Linked DNA regions of Homo sapiens: all the other regions are linked to region 3. Evidence: promoter capture Hi-C in human tissues and cell types (Jung and others, 2019). All regions are on one chromosome and are shown on one strand. Each heading gives the region's core, a stretch centred on a gene start or on the middle of the fragment in contact. The rest is flanking DNA. Distances are from core to core; before and after follow the strand shown. Region 1 overlaps LMAN2 (lectin, mannose binding 2). Region 2 overlaps UIMC1 (ubiquitin interaction motif containing 1). Region 3 holds the start of NSD1 (nuclear receptor binding SET domain protein 1).

Evidence for each region. Contacts are between HindIII fragments. The study calls those that stand out against the background at their distance.
Region 1: a contact is called between a fragment that was not itself captured here and the fragment with the promoter of NSD1 in region 3, in 1 of the 25 tissues and cell types used here (spleen).
Region 2: a contact is called between a fragment that was not itself captured here and the fragment with the promoter of NSD1 in region 3, in 3 of the 25 tissues and cell types used here (lymphoblastoid cells, mesendoderm cells and thymus).

Annotation. Positions count from the first base shown.
Region 1 is chr5:177,332,329-177,335,028 of GRCh38, forward strand. It overlaps LMAN2 (lectin, mannose binding 2), which reads right to left. Exons shown (of 8, transcript NM_006816.3): 7 at 1,956-2,075. Among named protein-coding and RNA genes, the nearest start is that of LMAN2, 18 kb to the right of the region's middle. The HindIII fragment of the contact is 8,340 bases long and covers 1-2,700 here.
Region 2 is chr5:176,955,128-176,957,827 of GRCh38, forward strand. It overlaps UIMC1 (ubiquitin interaction motif containing 1), which reads right to left. Exons shown (of 15, transcript NM_001199298.2): 8 at 832-908. Among named protein-coding and RNA genes, the nearest start is that of UIMC1, 50 kb to the right of the region's middle. The HindIII fragment of the contact is 7,008 bases long and covers 1-2,700 here.
Region 3 is chr5:177,132,372-177,135,071 of GRCh38, forward strand. It overlaps NSD1 (nuclear receptor binding SET domain protein 1), which reads left to right and starts at 1,402. Exons shown (of 23, transcript NM_022455.5): 1 at 1,402-1,581. RefSeq lists enhancers at 393-944, 437-731, 945-1,498, 1,499-2,050, 2,051-2,604 and silencers at 768-1,437, 1,518-1,677, 1,738-2,037. The HindIII fragment of the contact is 15,853 bases long and covers 1-2,700 here.

The DNA.
Region 1 (2,700 bases), core at 123-2,622, 200 kb after region 3:
AGGACAGCCGGCCACGGTGGGCAGGCCGGTCGTACTCACCCCCCTCACCGGGGAGGGGCAGAGGTCAGGTGAAGCCCATCCCAGCCAGCTCTGCAGTCCCCAGGGCAGGGTGGGGCAGAGAGAGGACCAAGCCCACAGGGACCCGGGACCCCAGCGACAAGCCTGGGCTGCCTTCTGCTGCAGGAAGCCAGTTAAAACCAGACTCCTGGGCTCCTCTGAGTCCAACTCTGGATAAGGGGAGGCCCAGGAGTCTACATATCCAAGCCCCACCCCCACGCTGTGGTCTGAGGGCCCTTTCTGGAGCAGCGCGGCCCTGGTCACAGGCTCTCCCAGCCCACAGCTGGATGCTCTCGGCAGCCCCCCAGGAGGGTCTCCCAGGACCTGAGTCCCACACTCCACCCCAGCCCACAGCCTCTCTCCTCCACACAAGGTTCCCACAGGTCCTGCCCATCCTGGGATGGGGCCCACTGGTACGCTCCCTTGTACAGGCGGAGAGAAGACACTGACTTTCCCAAGCTCTCCAGGCTGTGGGTGGAGGAGCTGGGGTCTGGCTGGGCCCTGTTTCTGCCACTCTGCCTCCCTCCCTGACTGCGGCCCCCCCGACTCCACACTGTACAGTCTCCTCAGGCGTCCCCACACCCAGGCCTCGGGCCCAGGCCCTGCCTTTCAGCGACGTGCATGCCACCCTCTTGCCAGCCACAAGCCAACCTCCATCCTCCCTTCCTGCACAAGCTGCCACCAGCAGGCCTGCTGACCACTCTCGCCCCAGCCTCTGCTCTGCACACCGACAGCAGCGGCCACTGACCGAACGCGGAGGTCCCTAGGGATGGTGCTTCCCCAGAAAGCCACTCAGCCTCAGGGCTCTCACAGCTCCCTCTGTCTCCCTGTCTGCCGCAGACCCTAGAATGAGCCCCAGGGGCAGGGCCTGCCTGATCTCGTGTCTCCAGCACCCAGCCCATGGCTAGGCACAGAGGGCAGCTTTGGTCACATCTGAAGGAACAAATGGATTGAATCTAAAAACGAGTTCATCCTGCCTTGCCAGCTGCACGGGATGCTGGGTGGGCAAGGCAGGTGCCACCTCTGCAAACACCCAGCAGCTGGCAGCCTTCTGACCAAAGGTTGCAGCAAGGTTTGTGTGGTCCCCAAAACATTTCAAAATAATCTGAATCTTTAAAAAGTGAACTGTCACATAAAACACTGGATCTTGGCTTCTCCTGAAAAGCAGAAACACGCGGCCAAACTGGCCCACACGGCATGGGGACCCAGGGCTGGGCTACGACAGAGCCCGCGCCGTGCACTTCTGTCACTGGCTGGACCCCCAGGCACACATCTGTGGCTCTTAGGGTGGACTTCTCCACACACAGATGCCTCATTCCTCCAACCACAACGTTCACTCTGTGAGGAAAGGGGTAGCTAATTAGTGCCATGGGAAGAACCCAGGCTTCGGGTTTTGTAGAAACCCAATTTCCAATCTTGCTCTCTCTCTCCTTCTAGCTAAGGAATCCACCCCCTTGACCAGCAGCACGACTTCTTCCAGGTGGCTCACAGAAGGGACAGGTGGGCCAACATACCCAGCCCCCTGGCTCTGCTGGCCACTGCCCCAGCACCTAGTGAGGGAGGATGCTGGCCCACCACTCACACGTTTGTTGATCAGCCACTGCTTGCTGCCACAGCACTCACGTGACTAGGATGTCCTCAGGGACTGACTCTCTGCAGACTTCTCTTCCGCCTCATTCATTTACTCAAAAACTTGCCAGAGCTGACACGATCCAAGCCCAATACTCTAGGAGCTCGGACAGGGCCAGCCAGTGCCGCTTGCCAGGACCGGGCTGATCCAAGAGCCCAGACCACAACCACCACAACCACGACTGGACCACAAGACCCGCCAGGCTGGCTTCACCCCATTCTGGGTCAGGCCGCCCAGGCCCAGGCAGGGCGGGGCTGTGCACACGCACCTTTGGGCGACTTGAGGAAGTTGACGCTGGGCTCGATCTTGGTCCAGTCGATGCTCTCCTCGTCGGGCGTGTGCTCCACCATCAGCTGGAACAGCTTCATGGAGATGATGTCATGATTGTCTGCAGGACCAAGAATAAACCTGTGACAGCCTACAGGCCAGCCGCAGGGCACGTGGCCCAAGACCCTCCCACAAGGAAAGCTGCTGCTGCAGCCAGTAAACCTGCCAGGCCCCTGGGGAGAGCACTGCCCAGCCGGCTAGGGCCTGTTTTCTTCCCAGCTCCCTCCAGTCACCAGCAATAAAAAAGAGAGGAGGCAGAGTGGAGAGAAAACAGTAAGGGCTTTACAAGCAGAATCATCTGGGTCTAAATCCTGGGGTCTGCCGCCCTCTTTGAGGCTCATGTTCCGCACATGTAGAGGAGTGATGATCTCCATCTGTGTGGTTGCCATGGCAAGTACATGAGAAGGGTCTACACCACACAGAAGATGGCCTGCCTGCAGAATAAGTGCTCAAAAACAGACCCGGGAAAGACCAACAGTCGCTGTGTGACTGGCTGAGAAGGCTGAGGTCCCAAGGGCAGGAGCCACCAGACATTCTTGCCACAGAGACCCACATACAGGCTGCAGGGGAACAACTCGGCAACCAGCTAAGGGCCTGAGCCTAACGCAGGTCAGCAGCTGTGCCTGAGGAGACTGGGGAAAGGCTCTGTCCAATGGCATGCACAGGGAAGAGCCCTGGCTTGACGC
Region 2 (2,700 bases), core at 142-2,641, 180 kb before region 3:
CACAAAATAATGCTTCATATTATACAATGATTCAGGAGTTTCTTAGATGGTAAGTATCTTAGTTCATTTTACATTATTTTGTATATCTAAATCTATCCATGTGCAACTTTGAATGAGCATCTCTTCTACCTAAAACAAAGTACCTATCTTTTAATTTTTACAATTAACAAAAAGCAAACTAAAGCACTTAACGAGGTTAAGCATCTTAGGTCTAAGATTAAAAATAATGACAGAACATGCACAAAACTCAATTTCTGAACCTCCTATGCAGTAAGACCCCAACAAATGGCAATATAAAAACTAACTACTAAAAGGCTGTGAAGTCCAGGCACAGTGGCTCACATCTGTAATCCTAGCACTTTGGGAGGCCAAGGAGGGAGAACTTAAGCCCCGAAGTTCAAGGCTGCAGTGAGCTATGATTGCACCACCGCACTCCAGGCTGGCTGACAAAATAATTTAAAACAATTTAATTTAAAATAATTTAAACAAATTAAATAACAAAAGGCTCTGAATGTACAGTTAAGCAAATGCTATTCCTGATGCTTTGCTGCCATCTCTGATGAGGCCTGTAAACAATCAAGAAGACAAAAAAAGTCATGTTAATTTCAAAACTAAATTACCCCTAAGGAGAGAAAAGATTGAGAATAAAAGCCAATGGCCATTAAAAACACCTATATGTGTATACGCATACGAGTGTTGAGACATGTACATACACGTATCAATTACATACAAACCTCCAGAGAGTAGGTTTGAAGAGTCAGAGGAAAATTAATAGGCATGAAAAGGTAAATAGGTATCAGAAATTCAGTAAAATCACAGTGGGGTACTTACCAGGACAAACAGTGATTTCTTCTGCAGAACTCTCTGGCATAAGGACTAAGCTTCTCTTACTGGTCAAAGCAGCAACACTGAAAGAGAACCAAATCCCAAATGAATTCCCAGTAAAATAAATCAGAACATAGAGCCAAAAGCAATGGTGAGTCACTCACAAAGCCACAGGTAATCACAGATACTTGCTGCCTAATACCACAAAAGCACAATAGGAAAGCAAGGAATCAGTACTGAAAACTCCAGACCAGAAATATGGAAAATAAATATGCTTACAACTTCAGTTCCAGTGAAATCACTGAATGAAAACAAATTCCCTTTTGGAGTTTTCACAAAGGAAGGTTGAAGGGTGAGAACTGTCTGTGAATATCAGAGAAGGCAAAAACTCCACTCCAATATAAGGATGTCAAAGGTGTTTTATAGCCTCCATCTCAGCCTTCTGAAGGCTAGAGATTTGTAAACTGACAAGAGAAGACACAGAGATTCTTCTGACAACACACTTTCTCCTCCTTTTGCAGTTAAATCTCCTCTTTATCTCAAGATGTTGCTTTCCATGCAACAAAAATAAAAAACAATTCCAAACTGCCCTACAGCAAAAATCTGCCCACATAAATTGAATCTCTTTTCTAACAAAAACTTAATTATGAATGGCTTCCTTCATCCAACCTTCTGGTTTTCCCTGACTGCTCATGGAGTGCAATCTCTTCCTGACATAGGAATACATGGCTGATCTGAGCATCTGAGCTAGCCCCCTCATGCTTCACAGGGCTTTACGATTAGTTTGATCAAGTATGCAAGAGGATGCTTGAAAACAAAAATCCTCACATCAACCAAGAACCACAGAGAAGACAGAATAGCTACAACTGAACTCATGATAAATAACTAAATCCTGATAGAAAACCACAAGTGATTTATCTCTAAATAAAACATCTCATAGCATTTGTTATAAACCCCAGCCAGACAGTTTACTCTGCATGTAACATTAGTGCTCTATTCAAAGGGTCCATCACAAAACAATTTTCTGACATTTATAAAATGGGCTAATCAATTTGAAGTCAAACCACATTGCCTGCGATTCCAACTCTCTCCTGGTGACAAAGTGTATAATCATTTATTAAAACCTACATCTGCTCTGCACAAGGCTCACCACAATAAAGCAGAGAGGCCTATAGGGAGTAAAGGCATACTCTGTTAAAACCACTTCCAAAACTGTCTTAACAGCAGGAAAATCAAACCAAAGCCATATTCTTTAGCCCAGGAAGGAATACCAAGTACTATCAACCAGAAGCCTAAGAAAGACCACCACCTTGACTACAGCAAATGGCAAGTGGGCTTCAACTCTCATATGGGAGAACAGTCATGCAGTTCAAAACTAAGCTCTTGAGAAAGTCTCAAAACTCAACTACTAGATAAAAAGGGCAAGTGGAAAGTAACTGGAAGCATGATCCAGTTAATAGTGCAGTTTATAATTAATCAACTGCTATCTATTATTAAAGTAAGAAGACTTAGAAGGTAAGCCCATCAATCAATCAGCAAGAACAATGGAGGAGGTAATGCAAATACCATCCTTTACAGGAGATAGGAGGCACAAACGGATTAAAAGTGGCACAGGACAGACAGTGAGAGTGACACAGGTCCTGTGTGGCCTGAATAATATGAAGACTTTGAAGAGGATGTTAAGTCTCAAGAGTAAATTTAAAAGATGTATAAGGTTTAGATATACAGATAAAATAAGCATAAGCAGAGTTGGGGAAAAGAGAGAAAGGGGCTAAGAATAGAAGGACTATAAAGAAATCAGTCTAGAGCCTTCAAATTGGCATAGAAAACTAGTGTAATTAGTTAAGAGAATTGCAGGATGTGACCGCTTTTCAG
Region 3 (2,700 bases), core at 152-2,651:
CCAGCCCGGCGCGCACGCACATACCCACGCCGGCCGGCGCCCGCTGCCCGAGCCCCCGTGCCAGGCCCAGACCTTGACTAGGCGCGGGAGGCGGTGCAGGGACTAGAGGACCCCCTCCCCCGGCGTTCCCCTCGCCCCGCCCGAGGCTGCGAGGACCCCTGGGCTCGGGGGTGGTGAGGGAGCTTCGTCCCGGCTGGGCCCGGGCTGGGGACTCGGCCTCCCTGGGCGGGGGCCGCACGGCTGCAGGCCGAGGTGCGGACGCGCTGTCAGGCTGCAGCCCGGCTCGGTGCCGGGGGTGGGCTCAGCGCTGGGGTCGCCTGGCTTCGTTCCCCCGCGGAGGCCACGGCCGGGCGAGCAGTGCCGGGGCGGGTAACCCGACCCGGCTCCCCAGAGCCGCTCACCCCGCACGGCCCGGCAAGGGGAGGGAGAGGGATGGGGGGAGGGGGAAGGGAAGGGGTGGTGGGTGAGGGGCTGTGGGCACCGCAGGGCCGAGTCCCCGGCCCGTCTGCGCTGCTGTAGGGCGGCTGCCCGCGGCACCCGGGACGATCCAGCCTCTGCCTCGCGGGCGTCGAGCCTGAGACAGGAGGGAGCCCTGGGGCTGCACAGGCTTGGCTCAGGGAGGCAGACCCGAGCTGCTGCCTCCATTTTGTTTCCTGCTCAGCTTGGTCTGTGGTGGTGGTGGTGGTGGTGGTGTGGGTTTGGGGTGCGGCCGGGTAGGGGGTTCGCCTGCGGCCGCGTCTGCTCGGGGCCTGAGGCCTCGAAGACCCCAGCCCAAGCCCCCAGGTGAGCCCTGCGGCAGGAGGGGGGTTGCCTTGGCCTCGGGCCGAACCCAGCGGGCTGAGGGCAGGTGCCCAGTGGATGGGGAGCCTGGGCTGTAACCTAAGATGGAGGCCGGGACTGACGCGGGCCCGAGCAGGGCTGGCGGGACGATCGGACAGGCCTCAGCCGCGCCAGGTGCCGCCTGGGTTGGGGTTCGAGACGCGTAGGGTGCGGGAGCCGTGTGCGGCCCGAGGCCAGCGCCGTGCCCCGAGGTAGGTGAGGGGATCGGAATGCCACCCACGACGCCCGCAGGCCCCGACACTCCAAGGAGGCGCGCGAGGCCCCTGGGGAGCCCGCCTCAGGCCCCGCCCGGGCAGCCGGGCCGGCCCGTAGGCCCCGGCCGCGAGCGGGCGCGCAGGGGGAGGGGAGGGGGCGGCAGCGGCAGCTCCGCTGATTGGGCGGCGCTCTCACAAGCCCGACTTCACCCGCCCTGAACCCCGAAGAGTGAGAGAAGGGAACGCGCGCGCTCGGTGGGGGAAGGGGTGCGCGCGCACTCGGGGCCCAGCCGCACGCGGGCCGGCGCGAGGCGCTCGGTCGCACGCGCGGCCGCGGGGGCGCGCGCGGTGGGGGTGTGAGGAGGAGGAGGCGGCGGCGGAATAGGCCGGGGCAGGTCGCGCTCGCTGCCTTCTCCCCTGAAGAGAGACGCGGGGGGAGGGGGGTGCGGCGAGCGGCCCCGCTCTCTCCCCACCGCTCCGCTCGCACCCCAGTGTAATGAGGGTCACCCCCTCCCCCCAGCTGGCCCGGGAGGGGGCGCGGGGCACGGTAACTAGTGCGCTGGGGTGGGCGGCGGGCAGGCGCGAGGAGAAGGGAGGGAGGAGGGTGGCCGGGCGGGGAAGATGGTGGTGGCCGTAAGGTGAGGGGCTCGGGGGAGGGCCAGGCGCGATGCGGGGTTGGTGGCCGGCGGCGCTGCAGCCGCCGGCCTCCTCCCCCTCCCCCTCCTCCATCACTACCAGCCGGGCTCAGGCCTAGCTGGCCGGGCTGCCGCGAACTTCCTCCCGGCGCGGCCCGTGCCCCGCCGGCCGCCTGCGAACACCTCGGCCTCCGCCTCCCCTCAGGTAGCAGGCTGCGGGGCGCGGGGCCGGCTGCCCTCCCGCAGCAAACTTTGCTTGCTGCTGAATATTGATGAGAGCGATCGGCTCGGCTGGGAGGTGCTGCCGCGGCTGCGGGAAGGAGCGCGGCCCGGGCAGGCGGCGGCGGCGTCGGCAGCAGCCATGTTTTTCGAGCTGTAGCAGCTGCTGCTACCCTGACTGGGCTTCGCTGGCCGCCTCGGTTTCTCCCTCTGCCGGGTCCAGGCCTCTTCGCCCTGCAGCTGCGGATCCAGCAGGCCTGCATTCAGGAAGGCGAGCTCTGGGGTGCAGCCGCCTCGGCCGGCTCGCCTGCGGCCTGCGCACCGCCGCTGCAAAGGCTCCGGCGCTGGCTGGGCGCAGGGTGCAGCGCTATTGTGACCGCTGCGCCCTAGCGAGCCAGGAAGGGGGGGGTACCTTTTTGTGCAGGGTCCAGGAGCCCCCCTCGGACCCCGCAGCCTTTTGCTTTTGAGAGATCCAGCTGCTCGACCCCTGGCGAGGGAGGGGGAGGACTAGTCCTGTTTGAGAATTGGGAATTTTGACGGGCAGAGGGGTTTTAATTTTAGTTCATCCCAAGTGTCCACCAGTCTACAGAGGAGGAAAAAGAGACGGGCTGTTTCTATGTAGCAGGATCGGCCCAGCTTCGGGAAAATGGAGTTTTCAGAGGCTCATCGAGGCCATTTTTTCATCTCCAGTCGGGGGAACTTTTTCTGCCCATGGAAGTGCAGCAGAAAGGCATAGAGGCCACTAGGCCTTGAAGTGGCTGCCATTTTAAAGAGTCGAGTCAGATGGCCTATTAACTCAGATTAATTGCTGT